Regions from separate parts of the Homo sapiens genome. Here regions 1 and 2 are each linked to region 3. The links are contacts of gene promoters, found by promoter capture Hi-C in blood cells and fetal thymus (Javierre and others, 2016). All regions are on one chromosome and are shown on one strand. Each heading gives the region's core, a stretch centred on a gene start or on the middle of the fragment in contact. The rest is flanking DNA. Distances are from core to core; before and after follow the strand shown. Region 1 overlaps PDP1 (pyruvate dehydrogenase phosphatase catalytic subunit 1). Region 2 overlaps TMEM67 (transmembrane protein 67). Region 3 holds the start of PTDSS1 (phosphatidylserine synthase 1).

Region 1 (3,971 bases), core at 1,093-3,592, 2.3 Mb after region 3:
CCTGCAAAAGGTAGCATATGCTGGATGAGGTGTGTATCTCAGTCGACTCTGAGGAATGTACGATGAGGAACAACAGAGATGTTTGTGGTGGCAGTAACATGCAGTGCCATAGATCCTGCTCAGTTCACAGTTACGGATGAGAGGAAAAAACAGTTGAGTTGGTGCTGGCATGGCATCAGAGAACAGTGGCAGGCTGGAACTTCTGACTGGGATTCCTAGACAGCAAATTAGACAGATGTACACAAAGGAAAGAGTTACATTTCAGGATACTTAATCTAGCTTTGCCTTTATAACAAATATTAAGCAAGTCAATCTACATGTTAAGCCTTTGCTAGAAGGTACTACATTTTATACACACATCATGTACTATTTCTACAGGGTATATTCTGGCAGGCACAACTCCCAATCATTCGTGGAACCACGACTGAACTCCTGGCTCCTATACTCAAACTTCAATTTTCTCTTTTCTTTGTCGTCCTTTGTGCAGTACAAACTGTGCAGAATGTACAACAGATTTGGCTGGGGAAAGCTGAGGAGATGAAGGTTATATAACATTATGCAGTAGCCGTCTACCTGACCAATCATCCTTCTCCCTCCCTATTCTTAAAAAATGCCTTGAAATCTCCCATTTTACACAGGGACTTCTTCCATTTATGAAGACCCTTTACATAGACCTGTGGTCAATTTTTGGCATGATTACACATGGCTATGACCAAAAATGTTAAGAGGCAGCCAAACATATGTGTATTTATGAATTACGTGTACATCATATACATATATGACTACAGTAATATGCATTGTAACATATATAGAAAAATTTCTACATAATTAAATAAAAAAAGAAATTCCAGTATTTCTCTCCTGTACCCCAGTAGATGGTCTTGCAAAACTTGCTTCTCTAGTCCACTGTGGCAATTTGCCAGGCTAACGGGCATAGGTCTGCCACCAACTCCCAAATAATCTTGGAAAAGTCAGCTCACATCTTTGAGTCTCACTCTTCTAACCTGTAAAGGAACATCAACAGAGCAGATGCTATCTAAGGCTCTTCTAGGATTCATGCCTTTATGCTTATGGAAGTGAGGTTTTTAAATAAAATTCAGGTTTCATTTATTCACTGTTGAATTCTACCGTGCCCTTCATGATTAAAAAAAAAAAAAAAGTTTAAGTATTGCAGTAGCTCTAAAGCTTTGTTAGTAACATAAATGGTTTCAGTCCTAGAACTTAATTTACCTACTAACAATGTTCCCTGCTTAGCAGCTATAAGGAAAACCCATAGAAGTATTTTCATCTACTATGGATCCAAAGTAGAATTAACCCCTAGAAAAATGTTTTCTTGGATATGGTAATCACTCTGATTTGATCATTACACAATGTCTACCAATATATACATGCACTGAAACATCACATTGTACCCCATAAATATATAATATTATGTGTCAATTGTAAATTAAAAATAAATTTTAAAAGACCAAAAATGTTTTCTCTCACATTAAAAAAAAAAAAAAAAGGTATTTACTTGCTCCAGGGAAGCAGTATAGTCAAATAATAGTCTAAGGTTTGGATTGAAAAGGTACAGCAATATAATTACAAACTTAAAAAAAATCCTATCACTCACTATGTGCGCTGAAAATAATTTCTGGGCATTTATTTGGGAAATTTAATGAATATATCATTAATCTAGATAATTTGGGCAAGAAAAAAAATCCCTCTTCTTCCTCAATAACATATATTTTCCCTGAATTCTTGAGATACTGCTTCAAAATAGTCATTTGTACTATAAAGAAACACTTTGGAAATACTTTAAATAAACAAATGCAATAAACAAAAAGGAACACAGAAAATAAAACCATCTGAGTTAATAGCAACTATTCCTTCCCACGGCTAAACAAATATCATAGCATGTGTCAGCCATATATTATTTTCATGTACCTTTTTTGAAGAATAATTTGAGAAAAAGTAATAAATTGGGGTAGAGGGAAGCAAAGAAAACTAAACACTGAATAATCACTGATTCTTGTTTGTTTCTGTAATAAGCACTGCATAAGCCAGCCACACAGATTCTCTTCTGCAAGTAGTAGAAAGTACCATCATTTTAACTGCACTATCTAAGAAGGGATTTGTTTACGAAAATGAAGACAAGATCAGGCAATAGAAAGTAATGGCTAAAATTTTGGAAATAAGAATCCGTAACTAAAAAAGCATTCTGAAATGCACTAATGAAAAACAGAAATTCCAGAAAAACGGGAATCCATCAGGAGTAACCATTTAAATAAAAGAAATTCAAACTGAATACCTGAAAGTCATCCAGAGGTTAAGTGTACATGACTGAGCCAGAAGATGTGCTCAAATGTTGGGCCACATGACAGTGGCTTCCATACTTAAACCATATCTCTTTTTAGGTTTGCGTGCAGAAAGCATATCAACTCATTTTGTGCTTTGAATAAAGGTTTTCTATCATTAAAAATGTAAACTAATGTAATCTTAATGAATTTTTCTTCATAATTTTATGACTGCATTTGCTCTTTCTTTAAAACTTAAGAATCTTACAGAAAAAAACAATGAAAATGTGCCTGTATGGAACGTAAACTGACTCAAAATACTATTTGTGTGGGGGGGAGGGAGGGTTGATAGATGCATAACAGGGTTTGATTGTTTAATTAAGGAATAACAAGTCCTGGAAACCTGCACTTTCCTTAAATTCCTTTGCTTCGACATTTTTTTGCCGGGGGGGGGGAGGGAGGGCAGCGGGGGGAGGAATTTTGCTCTTGTTGCCCAGGCTGAAGTGCAATGGCGTGATCTCAGCTCATCGCAACCTCCGCCTCCCTGGTTCAAGCGATTCTCCTGCCCGGCTAATTCTGTATTTTCAGTAGAGATGGGGTTTCACCATGTTGGTCAGGTTGGTCTCGAACTCCTGACCTCAGGCCATCCACCCGCCTCAGCCTCCCAAAGTGCTGGGATTACAGGCATGAGCCACTGCACCCGGCTTGGTATGACATCTTTTCTACTTTTGTAATTGACTGCAAAATGAATGAAATCTAGTGACAAAAAGCAATGATTGACACAGCAGGTGCTTTTAACAATACTTACGTTCAAACATCAAATTCTCCACTACATTTTTCCTTCAAGGCAAAAATTCTTGAGATTAAAAACAAAAAATGAGAGAGTGAATTTTATTGACTCTATCTTTCAGTTATGCAGAGGCTTAGTACATGGACTGAGATTATATCCTAATGCCCCAACTTCCAACATGCCTTCAAAAGACAAAATTCCTAGGGAAGTTGGAATTTATGAAAACTGTGCTGTAATTAATGAGCGTTCTATCCGCATCGGTACAAGTGATACATTCTCTCCATCAGATCAGATACCCTTGGGAGTCAAAGTACTTTCAAATGCTTTCATAAATAAGTAAGCAATGAAAAACTCTTAATATCCTTCAGATTATCCACTGATTCAACAACAAGAAAACACTCTACATCATAACTTTTGCTGACAAGCTTGTTAAATTAGTGTAGAAGGCTCTTGATCAGGCAATAAGAACAGCATCCAGGTACAACTGTTGGTAAAACAGAGCAGTGTCAAATTTGCAAGTTATTCTTGATCACAATTTTCACGGAAAATTTCCTATTCCATGATCTAGACTCAGCCACGTTGTATGTAGCATCTTCATCCCAGGCAGATTGGGCTGATTTTGCCAATGACTAATAAAGAAAGATGCACTGCAACCAGAAACAGGAAAGAGAGCCGTCCATTCTTACTGATGTGCTTAGCAGAGCCTGTGCCAAGACATTTTTTCCACTCCATCAATAGACCCACGGACCAAATTAATTAGCAAATGCTATTAAGGCACCGACTCCAGAGCCCTTTAGCTTTGCAAAGCTTCTGATGTAAATGAAAAAGAAAAGCTATGCTAATCATTTAATGTGTCGGAACCCCAGTTTATGTAATCCGATTGCATTAAACACTCTACATAA
Region 2 (3,804 bases), core at 1,217-3,716, 2.5 Mb after region 3:
GAGGTTGCAGTGAGTCGAGATTGTGCACTCCAGCCTGTGCAACAGGGTGAGGCTCCGTCTCAAAAAAAAAAAAATTTTTTTTAACCTATTTTACTAATAATTTTTTTTATTATTCTTTTGCTTGTTAAAACCTTCCCTCTAGCTTAAGGAGAAAATAAACTTTCCACTTGGGAAGAGAAATAACACAAACATTTTAATTGTAAATTTTAGGTTAAAATATAAAGACAAGAAACTGAAAGAAGAACTAAGGAAAAACTCATAGCATGACATTAAAAAACCTACTAGACTATTTTTGAAAGAACAATAATTTGTATGTTAGATCTTACACATAAAATCTAATCCATTTTGTTTAAGTAATCTGCTTTATAAACAACAAAATGAGATCATTTGTTGAGTTTGCCTGTCAACCATCTTTCTCAGTTTTCCCTATTAGGAAAAGGCAATTCCATTTTTACAGTTATTCATGTGAAAAACTTTGAACTTTTTTTCTCTCTTGCCCCTTATCCAGCTCATGAGTAAATTCTGTCAGCTAAATCTTCAAAGCATAGCTGAAGGTAAATGCTTCTCTCATTTCTGCAGGACCACCCTTGTGCAATGGTCCACTATCTCTCACTCAGATTACTGTAATACTCTCCTAAATGGTCCCTTACCCCAACAAATTCTATTCTCCATGCTACAATGATCCTTTCAAGAACTGAAGTTCTATCATGTCTTCCTTTGCATGAAATCCTCCTATCTCCCTTAAAATAAGCTCCAGGGCCTTGCCATAGCCACTCCCTACATCCCTGACCTCATCTCCACTCCACTTTCCCTGCTCACTCTGCTCCAGCCACTCCAGCCTCCTCCTTCTCTCTTAAGCATGAATAAGCCAGTAAACTGCTTTGAGATCTTTGCTCCTGCTATGGTTTCTGCTTAGAACACTCTTCTCCTTGATGTTTACATGGCTCACTCTCACTTTTTTCAGTTCTTTGCTCAACTATAACCCTCTCAGAGATGTCTGTCCTGATCACTATATAAAATAGCACCCCCCACCCCATCTATGTACTTTACTCTTAACTATTTGCCTTCATAGCACTTAGCACAACCTGACATTTACTTAGGCTGTAACTCCATGAAGGACTGTTTTTTTCTTTTTCTGAAATATCTAACCTGATTTAAGAATTGGGCCCGGCACACAGTAGGTCATCAATAAACATTTACTAAGTGACAGTCAGTTTCCCCTAACACTCCGTTTCAGCTAAAAAAGCTTGGAGACATTCAATTTGTGTATACTAAATAACATCTTCTTCATGTATTCTCTTTCAGCCCACAAGAAAGAGTTTATTCTTCTTATAAGATTATGACCAAGAAGCTATAGCTACTTAGAAATAAAACTTTTATTATCTGGGTAAATAAATGGTATAATTCTTCAAAATAAAATGAAATTTATTTAAAAAATTCAAACTTACCCAACATGCAGCTGCTGATGATTGCAAATACTTTGCAAACCATTCTGAAGTTAAAGACATGCCCTGTAAACAAAAAGATACATTTTATTTTTAAGTTCAAATGACTCCAATATGCATATTGTTGAATGGGAAATGTCTCACATTACTTTCACAATGTTAGTAGAAAAACAGTTACTAATAGGAATACAAGAATTGATTTTAACCAATGTCAGTTATTATAAATAGGACCGCATTACAAAATAATCACACTTAGGCAAAAGATATAACGAGACAAAATGTGTCTGTAATCAAAAAATACTACATGCCTATTTCACTAACATAAAAAATAAAGTGGCAAACAAAAGAAAAAATAACAGATCCTGACTTAGTATTGAGTGGTTAATATTTACTGGTTTATAATTATTATAAATACTGTACCAAATTGGCAAGCAATAAAAAAAATTGGGGGGAAATAATTTCAAATCTCCAAAGTGGTGGTTCTCAAACAATGGTGGACATCACAATCACCTGCAGAACTTTCTAAAAACAAAAAATGCCTGGCTTCATCCCAAACAAAAACGAATCAGTATCTCCAGATGAGACCAAGGCAATTACATCGGTTTTGAAGGCTACAGATAACAAACCTCTGGCTAAAAAACATTACTTTAAAGCTTATCTGTACATCTTGCTAAAATATGAGAAACTAAGAAGCACCATTCAGAGAAAATCGTCTGGGCACACACGTAAGTGATATAACTAAATTATATGAACATGGCACCACAGTGATCAGAGAAATCTATAATAAAACTATGAGGTACTATTTGTGTATATTTAATAAGCAAAAATTATTTTGTAAGAAAAAATATGCATAGAAGGCTGAGGAACACATGCACACAAACTGGTAAAAAATGAAATGCAACACAACAGTACTGACAAATGCATGTAAAATGGAGCCACATACAATGCCACTGATAGTGTGAAAGTTACATGATACTTTTATAAAGCAATATCCATATACTCTAACCCAGAAATTTAGGAACACTTAGGAAATTTATCTTAAAGCAATAATCCCTCTAAATGGGAAAACATATTTATGGTTGACAGCAATATAGTTAATAACTGAAAACCTAAATATTCTCTGGAGATACCATTATACAAATTTTAGTGCATAAGCCAGAATATTATGGAACTATTAAAAATATAATTATACAAGGTGAGTCTGGAACATGGTATAGAGAAACCAAAGAAATCCCTAAAGTCTAAAGTCACGTCAAAACAACACAGGAGCTATGCTGAAAGGAAGTTCAAATTTGGTACAACTTGAACTTCGAAAAGAAGAATAAAAAAAGTTAACAGATTATAACACAATGAGTAAACAAAGATTCTACAGTTCATAATAAAGCTTTTTTTTAAAAAAAAAAAAGCACAGAGAAAAAGTAAAGTGCTTCTACAGAAAATTGCTAGCTAATAAATCTAGAGGGAATAATAGAATTGTTATTAGAAGTGACCAGTTTAGTAACTGATACAGGCAAGATTCATTAATTGCTAAAATGGATATTTACATAGTCTCAGACTAACGTATTAATCACAGTACCTTTACAATGGAGAGAAGTGGCAGACACAACTATGACCAAGAAATCAATATTTTTTTTTTTTTTTGAGACGGAATTTCGCTTGTTGCCCAGGATGGAGTGCAATGGCGCGATCTTGGCTCACTGCAACCTCTGTCTCCTGGGTTCAAGCGATTCTCCTGCCTCAGCCTCCTGAGTAGCTGGGGTTACAGGAGCCTGCCGCCACGCCCAGCTAATTTTTGTATTTTCAGTAGAGATGGGGTTTCACCATGTTGGCCAGGCTGGTCTTGAACTTCTGACCTCAGGTGATCTACATGCCTCAGCCTCCCAAAGTGCTGGGATTAAAGGAGTGAGCCACCGCGTCCAGCCTAGCAATCAAATTTACTATCACCAATAACTGGACAACCTGACAGACATTACATACCTCTTGTTGTGATGCAATGAGCTGTATACAACATCTATATAATATCTTGCGAAAATATGTTTCACTGAGTCTAATCATGAGAAAACAATCAGAAAAATACAGAGGGGAAAAACCACAAAAGCAAAGTGAAGCAGGGATATGTTCTAGATTAAAGGACACTAGAAAGACTAACTGCAGTGTGAGATCCTTGATTGGATCCTAGGTATCCCTTCCCCCAAAAAAGGAAGGGAGAATAAAGAACATTTTTGAACAACTGGGAAAATTTGGGTATGAATGGATATCAGTTAATTCTATTATGTTAATTTTAAATTCCTTGGGTGTGATTCTAGGAAAATGCCTTATTCTTTGGAGATCCACCCTAAAGTATTTGGAGTGCAATGTC
Region 3 (4,115 bases), core at 1,610-4,109:
GACTGCCTTGACAGAATATGATGTAAAAGGAAATTTCAGAAGATTGTGACTTTTTATATCAGAAAAGAGGAAGAGAAACCTATTTTGAAAGGACCTAGAATAATATTAAAAATGAAAGGCTGAAACAAATGGCTCATTCTTGCTTCTCATTATTTAAAACAAAATACCATAATTATTTTTCTAATTTCCAGAGAAACTCCCTCACTAATTTCATTATTTCAAGCCCACACCTAAGATGAAGTTAAACTGAAGTTAACATCAAACAGGTATGTATGTTATCTAATGTCCATTTTTCCAGTGCTTTTATCCTTCTCAATTACAGAGCATACTACATCCTCGTTCAATAATAAATATAAATTAGAAGACAGTAGCATTCAATGAAATCACATCGTAATAACCACTAATGTTTATTAAGCACTTAATACTTGCCATGCACTGAGCTAAACAGATTATCTAAAAAGATGAATTTAATCCTCATGACAAATAATCCCGACAGATTAATGTATTGATATTTTCATTTTACATACAGATAAGGAAACTGAGGCCTAGCAAAATTATGTGGCCACACAGCTATTAAGTGATAAAATCAGGCAACATAATGAAGTATTTGAAAGTAACCATAGTTAGGGACATGATTCATTTCTCTCCAAAGCTAGAAATATGTCTGGTCAGGTACTGTGGAAAGGTCTGGTCTTCACCTGCTGCACAGCTTTAGCAGATTTTATAGTAATAGTGGCAAGATCCCTCAATCATTAAAGAGTAAGCAATTGTTACTTAAGCTTTATACCTTTAGGTAGATTCTTTCAAATGGATAAACACTTACATAACAAGAACCAAGAGTCAAATGAATCCCAGAGGTAAGGAACAAGTGTGATGTGGGAGGATATTAGTTTTATGAGGATTTGAAAAACTGCAGTTATTCCTAAGGGAGGCACCACCGGCACTTGTGTGTGTGTATGCAAACGACTGTGTAGAAGACAATTCCCTTTATGTTGTACAGCGCTGTCACATATGTCACAATACATTTAGTATCCGTTAACTGCTCCCCCTCCCAAATACTAGAAGTTCTCTCAATCCTTGTGACTACCCAATATATATATCCCTACACATGTTCTGCTGACCCTGACAGAGAACCTTGATTGTTGGATAAAAATACTGGGAGAGAAGTAACTGACATGAATTGTACATTGTGCTCCAGGGACTCTGCTAAATGCATTCACACACATTCATTTAATTTTCATAACCCTATATAAGTAGATATTTCATCCCCATTTTACGAGTGTGGCCCCTGAGGCTCAGAGCAAGGTTATGCAACTTAATTAAGGACACACAGCCAGTTTTGAAACCAAAAGTGTGGCTCAAAAACTACTCTACTCTAAGTTGGCCTTTTAAGCCATAATGGTGAGAGAGGTGTGACTTCCCTTTCTTTAAAGAGGTTCATTCAGAAAGTATAAATCATTCTAAGTAGGAACCACGGTGTGTACCTCCTTATGAACCAAGGATGAATTAGTTCTCTAGGTTAGGAATGAGGAGCCACAGGCGCAGTGCCAGAGTTAACATGAGGTGTGTTCAAGATTTGGGCTGGGCAGCTCCTATGAACCGGTATATATTAGAATGTGTGTGTATGTTTTCCAGGGAATAAGAGAGTTGTGTTATGCTGTGTGAGGTTTATGTGTTTCATTTAACACACAGCAGTTACTATACCCCAGGCACCATTAAAATTGCTGGACAAGATCACATTTCAGCACGTATGTTAGGTAATGAGTGAGCAGGGTATGCACCGCGTGATGTGTGGCGGGCTGGTGTCTGTGCAGCCATGTACACAGATGATGGGTATTGGGCTGTGCTGGAAAGGAAAGGTCCGCTGTGAGGTGTGTGTTTAGAGTGGCAGTTTGTGCCGTGGTACAGATGGTAGTGTTTGAGGCTGGGGGAAGTGTTATGCTGGATGACTTGTGTGCAATGCATACGGGAAGTGCTGCACAGGAAAGACCGTGTATGCAGCACACATGTGCATTTTTTGTGCGTTACGGATAGTGCCGAATACCGGAGTTCCACAGGAAGGGATCTAGGTTGTGTCCTGGGCCTGTGTATGGTGCCTGCAGGCGCTGTGGATTGGGGTGCTTTGTATGTGTAGCGGTGTGTGCTGAAAGTGGTGCATACGACATGATTCATGCGGTGTGCTGGGTAGGGACGAAGGCTGGAGCAGTGCAGAGGAGGGGCCCGCGTCGTGATGTTGTGTGGAGCGATGCTGAGTGCGGTGGGTGAGGGGGCGATCGTGCTAGGTGACTCGCGTGCGTTCCCCGTGTAACCGGAGGCGCTGTATGGAGAAGGGGCACTGAGGGGTAGGGGAGCAGGCTAGCGTACTGTGAGACACCGGGCGGGCGGAGGGGCCGCGTGGGCGGCGGGCTGCCAGTGCGTGTGCGTGGAGCAGCCAGCCCACTTCCTCACCCAGAGCCATGCCGGGCCCCCCTCCCCGCCACCCTCCCTCCCGCCTCTTCCCTAGCCCTTGGACGCGCCCCCCGCTCGGCTGGGCCGCCCCACCTGGTAAAGGCGAAGTACATGAGGCTGACGATGGTGAAGCTGAGCAGGGTGATGGTATGCGGCCGGTAGAAGAAGTCAATGGTGATGTCCTCCACTTGCTGCTCGTTGATCATCCGGAAATGCATTTTGTAGTTCACATCATCCTTGCTTAGGGTCCGGCTCCCCACGCAGGACGCCATGGCCCGCCTCCCCGTCCTGCCGCGGTGGCGGCGGCCCCAGCCCGAGAAGGCCGGGACCCCGGGGGTGACTAGCCACAGTAGGCTAATAGCCGGACGGCAAAGCCGGGTCTGGCGCCCAGCAAAGGCTGGGAGCAGAGGGAAGGACAGGCGCGAGAGGGCGGGGTCGCGGCGCCGCCACCGCGGCCTGGGGCAGGGGACGCCGCCGGCCGTCCCCACGCTGTCATCCTAGCTGAGGCATCTCTACCACTCGAGGAATTTTCAGACTCCAAGTCCACAGGACTTCAGAGGAATAGCGAGCCGGAGAAGGGTAGCCGGGGCCCCTGGCTGGCTCTTTTCAGAGCACGTAGCCCGCTGTCTCCCCGCGTAACCCGGCACATGGTCTCGCCCACTCCGGGCGCGGCCCACGTGGGCCCGGGAGCGCGGCTGCGCTGTGTAGGGCGGGCTGAGGAGCCGGCGTGCGGCGCGGCGGGACGGGACGTGCGGCCCAGCGAGTTGGTCGGTCCCGGGGTCACCCGCTACGGGAAGCAGGCCTCGCCACAGGTAAAGCAGGAGCTGCCCCAGCACGAGGATCGCGCTCCTGGCGAGGGTTCAGGTTCCGGCGCACCCGCGTCCAGACCGCGCCCCAGGGCCTCAAGGGCCTTTAGGTTTTCGCGGCCCAGTAGAGGGTGATTGGTTTTGTTTTGTGTTTTTCCCTGGCTGATGTAGTGAAAACTCAACCATGCTGGCTAATTAGCGCAGTGTGAGAAGCCTCAGGAGGGGGCTCTGCCTTCCTGCGCAAGTTTGGGGAACTGAAGTGGGCTAAAATGGCCTGGGAAGTATTGAGAGACCCTTTATTAGGAAGCTGCCCCCATAACCTCCCTTTCTCTCCTGATTTCATTTATAGCATTTCGTAGGTAGAAATCTTGAACTCTATTTCAGTGCCTTTTTCTAGCGAAGCACTAGGCACTCATTGAGAACAGTATATATGAATTGTTAAGAGACTTCAGTTTCTTTAAGGGTTTTCTGTAATTTTCCTGATGAAAGGACCTTGTTAGAAGACTTCAGGTTACCACCTTACAGGGCTTTTATACACATCTGCACATCCCCTACCCGCTTTTGCATACTGTGTAAGCAAGTGAGTTAACTGTACTTGCCATTGATTTATTTCCATTCCGCAAACATTAGAGCAGTACAAGGCTCTGGGAAAGTGGAGAATAGTCCCCGGAAGGATGGATCCAGGGATGAGACCCAGCTCTGCTCTCGTGCATGAACAGTTAATCAATTGTTAAGATGTGTAGGCAGCAATGAAAGGATGTGGAGAAGATAGTGCACTTGTAAATAAAAATGCAAGGATAAACATTAGTTGTATGCACAAAGATCTTTTAATGACGGGGTGAAATTTGAAAGTGAGTCTTC

The links. The method cuts DNA at HindIII sites, captures the fragments that hold promoters and counts their contacts. A CHiCAGO score of 5 or more calls a contact.
Region 1: a fragment that was not itself captured here is called in contact with the fragment with the promoter of PTDSS1 in region 3 in 2 of 17 cell types (activated CD4 T cells and fetal thymus); the score reaches 7.4 in activated CD4 T cells.
Region 2: a contact is called between a fragment that was not itself captured here and the fragment with the promoter of PTDSS1 in region 3, in 1 of 17 cell types (activated CD4 T cells). The highest score is 6.3, in activated CD4 T cells.

What each region holds. Positions count from the first base shown.
Region 1 is chr8:93,918,260-93,922,230 of GRCh38, reverse strand. It overlaps PDP1 (pyruvate dehydrogenase phosphatase catalytic subunit 1), which reads right to left. Exons shown (of 2, transcript NM_018444.4): 2 at 1-215. The coding sequence starts at 171. Among named protein-coding and RNA genes, the nearest start is that of PDP1, 3.3 kb to the right of the region's middle. The HindIII fragment of the contact is 2,309 bases long and covers 1,188-3,496 here.
Region 2 is chr8:93,770,296-93,774,099 of GRCh38, reverse strand. It overlaps TMEM67 (transmembrane protein 67), which reads right to left. Exons shown (of 28, transcript NM_153704.6): 7 at 1,449-1,511. Among named protein-coding and RNA genes, the nearest start is that of TMEM67, 17 kb to the right of the region's middle. The HindIII fragment of the contact is 731 bases long and covers 2,101-2,831 here.
Region 3 is chr8:96,260,646-96,264,760 of GRCh38, reverse strand. PTDSS1 (phosphatidylserine synthase 1) reads right to left here and starts at 2,859. Exons shown (of 13, transcript NM_014754.3): 1 at 2,542-2,859. The coding sequence starts at 2,720. It overlaps MTERF3 (mitochondrial transcription termination factor 3), which reads left to right and starts at 3,151. Exons shown (of 8, transcript NM_015942.5): 1 at 3,151-3,260. RefSeq lists enhancers at 1,934-2,173, 2,319-3,011, 3,494-3,553, 3,705-4,115 and silencers at 2,324-2,503, 2,554-2,923, 3,104-3,253, 3,006-3,330. The HindIII fragment of the contact is 8,922 bases long and covers 782-4,115 here.